Regions from separate parts of the Homo sapiens genome. Here region 1 is linked to region 2. The links are contacts of gene promoters, found by promoter capture Hi-C in human tissues and cell types (Jung and others, 2019). All regions are on one chromosome and are shown on one strand. Each heading gives the region's core, a stretch centred on a gene start or on the middle of the fragment in contact. The rest is flanking DNA. Distances are from core to core; before and after follow the strand shown.

The links. Contacts are between HindIII fragments. The study calls those that stand out against the background at their distance.
Region 1: the fragment with the promoter of CHMP1A here is called in contact with the fragment with the promoter of IL17C in region 2 in 1 of the 25 tissues and cell types used here (stomach).

The regions. Positions count from the first base shown.
Region 1 is chr16:89,656,254-89,658,977 of GRCh38, forward strand. CHMP1A (charged multivesicular body protein 1A) reads right to left here and starts at 1,455. Exons shown (of 7, transcript NM_002768.5): 1 at 1,329-1,455. The coding sequence starts at 1,335. It overlaps SPATA33 (spermatogenesis associated 33), which reads left to right and starts at 1,583. Exons shown (of 3, transcript NM_001271907.2): 1 at 1,583-1,695; 2 at 1,995-2,168. The coding sequence starts at 1,659. RefSeq lists silencers at 1,182-1,241, 1,462-1,851 and an enhancer at 1,567-1,736. The HindIII fragment of the contact is 33,607 bases long and covers 1-2,724 here.
Region 2 is chr16:88,637,247-88,639,946 of GRCh38, forward strand. It overlaps IL17C (interleukin 17C), which reads left to right and starts at 1,326. Exons shown (of 3, transcript NM_013278.4): 1 at 1,326-1,401; 2 at 1,735-2,063; 3 at 2,568-2,700. The coding sequence starts at 1,396. LOC124903755 (a long non-coding RNA gene) reads left to right here. Exons shown (of 2, transcript XR_007065181.1): 2 at 1-188. The HindIII fragment of the contact is 16,303 bases long and covers 1-2,700 here.

The sequences.
Region 1 (2,724 bases), core at 205-2,704, 1.0 Mb after region 2:
AGCCTCCCGAGTAGCTGGGACTACAGGCACCCGCCACCACGCCTGGCTAATATTTTTGTATTTCTAGTAGAGATGGGGTTTCACTGTGTTAGCCAGGATGGTCTCGATCTCCTGACCTTGCGATCCGCCGGCCTCGGCCTCCCAAAGTGCTGGGATTACAGGCGTGAGCCACCGCGCCCAGCCCTTCAAAAAGTATTTTTAAAAGCCTGCCCATCACACCAGCCCAACGATGTTTCAGCAAACATAGGACTTCATTTTGCCAGATTCTTCCTGTTCTTTGGTATCCCTGAGCACACAGCCGGCTAGCCCCAGATGTAGAAGGTAAGAATTAGGGCGACCCATTGAGCACAGAAACGCTTGTGCTGGCTCCTGCTCAAACCTCTGCTTCCCCACATGGAGAATGGACGCAAAGAGCTGCTGTGACCAGGGCCTGGCACTCAGGGAGCGCTTTCTGTCTGAGTCCTTCTGATTTGCAGTGATGCTGTTTGGGGCAGGGGGTGCAACTGTCACTTTTTCTGGTGCCCTCTGACCCGACATTCCAAGTCCCGAAAGGCCGAACAGGCATCGCACAGTCCCCCCTACCGAGCTGGCGGGAAAGGGCGCCTGACGCTGAGGAGTGCCAGGGGCGGGGGAAAGGGTCCTGGGTCGGTGGTCGGGGGTCCAGGCCCTGGGCAAGGGGTCCTGGGTCGGGAGTCTAGGTCCCGGGTCCATGGTTGGGGGTCAGAGGTCGAGGCCCCGGGGAAGGCATACCGGGTTGAGATTTGGGGATGGAGGCCCCGGGGAAGGGGTCCCGAATCGGGGGTCGGGGATCGAGGCCTGGGGGGAGGGGTCCCGGGTCGAGGGTCGAGGCCCGGGGTAAAGGATCTCGGGTTGGGGGTCGGGGGCCTGGGAAGGGTCCCGGTCGGTGGTCGGGGGTCGAGGCCCGGGAGAAGGGGTCCCGGGTCGGTGGTAGAGGCCCTGGGGAAGGGGTTCCGGGTCGGGGATCGAGGGTCGAGGCCCGGGAAAAGGGGTCCCGGGTTGGTGGTCTAGGCCCTGGGGAAGGGGTTCCGGGTCGGGTATCGGGGGACGAGGCTCGGGAAAAGGGGTCCCAGGTCGGTGGTCGAGGCCCTGGGGATGGGGTCCGGGTCGGGGATCGGGGGACGACGACCGGGAAAAGGGGTCCCAGGTCGGTGGTCGAGGCCCTGGGGATGGGGTCCCGGGGGATCGACGGTCGAGGCCCGAGCTCTCCTGAGTCCTGCCCGCGGCCCCAGGTGGGCGGAGCCCACGCCAGTGGGAGAAGCGGCCCCGCCCCGCGCGCGAGTCCCCGGAGGACGGCCGCGACCTCTTACCGTCCATGGCCACAATGACAGGAGCAGCACTCGGAGAGGGAGAAGGGACGCCAACTCCGGGCGGTGTCAGGTCCCGGCGGCGATCGAACCGACCAAGCTGCACCCGGCGGGGACTTCCGGGGTCGCCGCCCCACTTCCGGTCGCACGGGATGCTCTCGCGAGAGGATGGTGGCCGGTCCCGCCAGAGGGGCGGGGCGCGGCTGCGCGGCGCGCGGTCGCCATGGTGACGCACGCCGCTGGCGCGAGGACCTTTTGTGAGTCGCTCCCGGCTCCGCGGCCGCGGAGGTGTGGGGACCCGGGCTTGCGTCGGAGGGGGCGGTGGGCTCACCCATGGGCCTTTCCAAAAGCAAAGAGAAACCCAGGAAAGGTAAAGGAGGCGCAGGCGCTGGGCTCCCCGCGTCTCCGCCCCTGGGCGCGGGCCCAGGGCGGGGCTGGGCTGGGCGGGGCGGTGTGAGCGCAGGCGCCAGGCTCGGCCCGGTGCGAACCGTTCCTGCCGCCGAGTCCGCCACGGACGGCGCGTTTCCCGCCTGAGGCGGTTACGGAAACGCGGAGACTCGAGACTTGAAGCCAGCTTATTCTGGACCCACGCAGGCGACTGAAGACGATGGGACCCACTGCCCTGCATTCGGTAAGTCCCGGGTCTAACGGATGATCCATATATTTCAGGTGAGGAGCAAAAGAAGGGATCCACCTATTCAGTTCCAAAATCTAAGGAGAAGTTGATGGAGAAGCATTCCCAGGAAGCCAGGCAGGCAGACAGGGAGTCGGAGAAGCCTGTGGACAGCCTCCACCCGGGGGCCGGGACAGCCAAGCACCCGCCGCCGGCAGCTTCGCTGGAAGGTAGGAGACGGCGGGAGGGAGCGAAGCGAGGTCAGTGGCTTGGAGGATCTGGGGCTGGGGTGAGGAGCCTACTGTAAGACCCTACCGGATGGACACTAGTAGCAGGCACGCGCCGTAAAGATGAAACTGGTTTGTTTTGGGAACTTTATGTAGGAGGTAAATATCCAGAAATCTTAGTTGAAAACATAAGTTTAATGAAAATGTAGGTCAGTTCCCGAGTGATAAGTGCGTACCAGGTGGTCGAGGGGCTGGGGCAGTGTGCGTGTGTCTCACCTGAGGTTCTCCTCGAGGGCTGGGTATCTTGGTGCCACTGAGAATCCCTGAGCCTCCGCACACTGGAACAGAGCATTGGGAGGCCGTCCCAGGCTGGACTGTAGCTCTCCGAGGGCTGTGGGGATAAGTACATTGCGGAGGGTGACCGAGGAGTAGAACCTGGGTGCGACAAAGGTGTCTTTTATAACAGCCTAGTGTGGCCAGACCTTTGGGTGTGTGTGGGGAAGATGAGGCCCCAAAAGTAGGAAGAAGCTAGAATACAAAGTTTTCCATCAGTTTTACC
Region 2 (2,700 bases), core at 76-2,575:
TCACCGATCAAGGAGGCCAAAGGCAGCTCCCGGCCCCGCTTACATAAAGCTTCCTGTGTGTGCTGGTCACACCTCACACCTCACGCCTCACGCCTCATGCCTCATTCACACCTCACACCTCACTCCTCACACCTCCAACTCAGACTTTTTAGCTTGAACTTTTTTCTCAATAAAACCACAGAAGCCCAGGCCGGGTGCAGTGACTCATGCCTGTGATCCCAGCACTTTGCGAGGCCGAGGTGGGCAGATCACGAGGTCAGGAGATCGAGACCATCCTGGCTAACATGGTGAAACCCCGTCTCTACTAAAAATACAAAAAAATTAGCCAGGTGTGGTGGCGGGCGCCTGTAGTCCCAGCTACCCGGCAGGCTGAGGCAGGAGAATGGCGTGAACCCAGGAAGCTGAGCTTGTAGTGAGCCGAGATCGCACCACTGTACTCCCCGCCTGGGCGACAGAGTCAGACTCCGCCTCAAAAAAACAACAAAAAAAAAAACAACACAGAAACCCAACAGAGACCTGAAGACGTGCCTGCCTCCCCCATCTCCGGGACCTCTCCCACCTGGGTGAAGGGGGCACGTGAGCCTCACCTGATCTTGACCATCTCAGCTAAAACACTGAACCACCCTTGGCACCCACCAGCAGCAGACGGAGAAGAACTGTATAGGGTGCAAAAGCGCCCCGCCACCATCAGGTCCAGATGAAAACCTACAAGTTGAATCAGCAAGGTGCTGACGGATACGCAAGCAGAAACCCTCTTATAGGAGGTTCAAGGCTGGGCGCAGTGGCTCACTCCTGTAATCCCAGCACTTTGGGAGGCCAAGGCGAGCAGATCACTTGAGGTCAGGAGCCTCAGACCAGCCTGGCCGATATGGCAAAACCCTGTCTGTACTAAAAATACAAAAATTAGCCAGGCATGGTGGGGGGTGCCTGTAATCCCAGCTACTCGGAAGCCTGAGGCAGGAGAATCGCTTGAACCTGGGATGTGGAGGTTGCAGTGAGCTGGGACAGCACCATTTCCCTCCAGCTCGGGTGACAGCAAGACCCTGTCTCAAAAAAAAAAAAAAAGTTTGAGAATGTCAGACAAGGCAGCACCCTGTGTAGGTGCTCAGGTTGGGCGGAGTCTCTCTCGGGGGAGGGGGGTAACAGGACAGCGCCTCCCGGGGCCTCCTTGCATGTCTGTGTCCTGATGCACAGCAGGCGGGGGCTGCGGGGACCAGAGAAGGAAGAAGCGCCCCAGCTGGGCACTTCCCGAGGAGGAAGTGGTGCCGGAATTTCCCCCAGGTGTGGCCTCAGGTATAAGAGCGGCTGCTGCCAGGTGCATGGCCAGGTGCACCTGTGGGATTGCCGCCAGGTGTGCAGGCCGCTCCAAGCCCAGCCTGCCCCGCTGCCGCCACCATGACGGTGAGCCTCTCCACATGCCGCTCGGATGGATGCTGCTTGGATGTGCAGCCTGGCATGGAAGGGCTGGGGTTCTCTGAGCCTGGGAGGAGGGTGTTGGGATGGGGTCTGGGAAACCCCTCAGTCTGGGGGTAGGGGAGGCAGCTGCAGATCCTCGGAGCGCTGGCATGCTGGGTGTCTTGGGCTGAAGGGCTAGCCTCTCTGGGCTTCAGTTTCCCCATCTATAGAGGGAGGGCTGTACTCCATCTTTCCGCTGGGAACAAGGAAAGCTGAGGTGGAAGTGAGGTGCCCCCTGCCCTGGGCACCTCCTAACCACCCACCTGCCTGTTTCACCAGCTCCTCCCCGGCCTCCTGTTTCTGACCTGGCTGCACACATGCCTGGCCCACCATGACCCCTCCCTCAGGGGGCACCCCCACAGTCACGGTACCCCACACTGCTACTCGGCTGAGGAACTGCCCCTCGGCCAGGCCCCCCCACACCTGCTGGCTCGAGGTGCCAAGTGGGGGCAGGCTTTGCCTGTAGCCCTGGTGTCCAGCCTGGAGGCAGCAAGCCACAGGGGGAGGCACGAGAGGCCCTCAGCTACGACCCAGTGCCCGGTGCTGCGGCCGGAGGAGGTGTTGGAGGCAGACACCCACCAGCGCTCCATCTCACCCTGGAGATACCGGTGAGGACCTGGGGATTCCGCTGTGGCGTGGGGCTGCCCCTCCCCTGGCGGGGCCCTGACTGCCCGGAGAGCTCTCTGGGCCTTGGTGGTTCTCACCTGTCAAGTGGGCGTGGCCACCTGAGCTCCCTCCCTCCGGCCCTCCTGACCTGGACGGCTGAGCTGCTGCTTGCGGCTGGCCGTGCCCTGCCTCCCACTGTCCTAGGTGGCCAGGGTCCCCTGGGGAAATTCTGGGCCCGTCACCTGAGCTCCTGCAGAAGTGGGGCTGGGTGATGAAGTGGAAGGGAGGCTCCTAGAGGCCTCCGGACCCTGCTCTGTGCTCTTGGAGGGCCCTGGGGAGACGTGGATTACCACCACATGTGAGCCCGACTGCACCCCAAGCCCGTGTGGCTCAGCCCTCGCTGCCTCAGGTCCTATCCTGAGTACACGGAGAGGGGCCCTGAGGGGAGAGGGGCCTCCAGGAGGACAGGGTAGGGCCAGAGACTCACTGTGCACCCCGTCCCGCAGTGTGGACACGGATGAGGACCGCTATCCACAGAAGCTGGCCTTCGCCGAGTGCCTGTGCAGAGGCTGTATCGATGCACGGACGGGCCGCGAGACAGCTGCGCTCAACTCCGTGCGGCTGCTCCAGAGCCTGCTG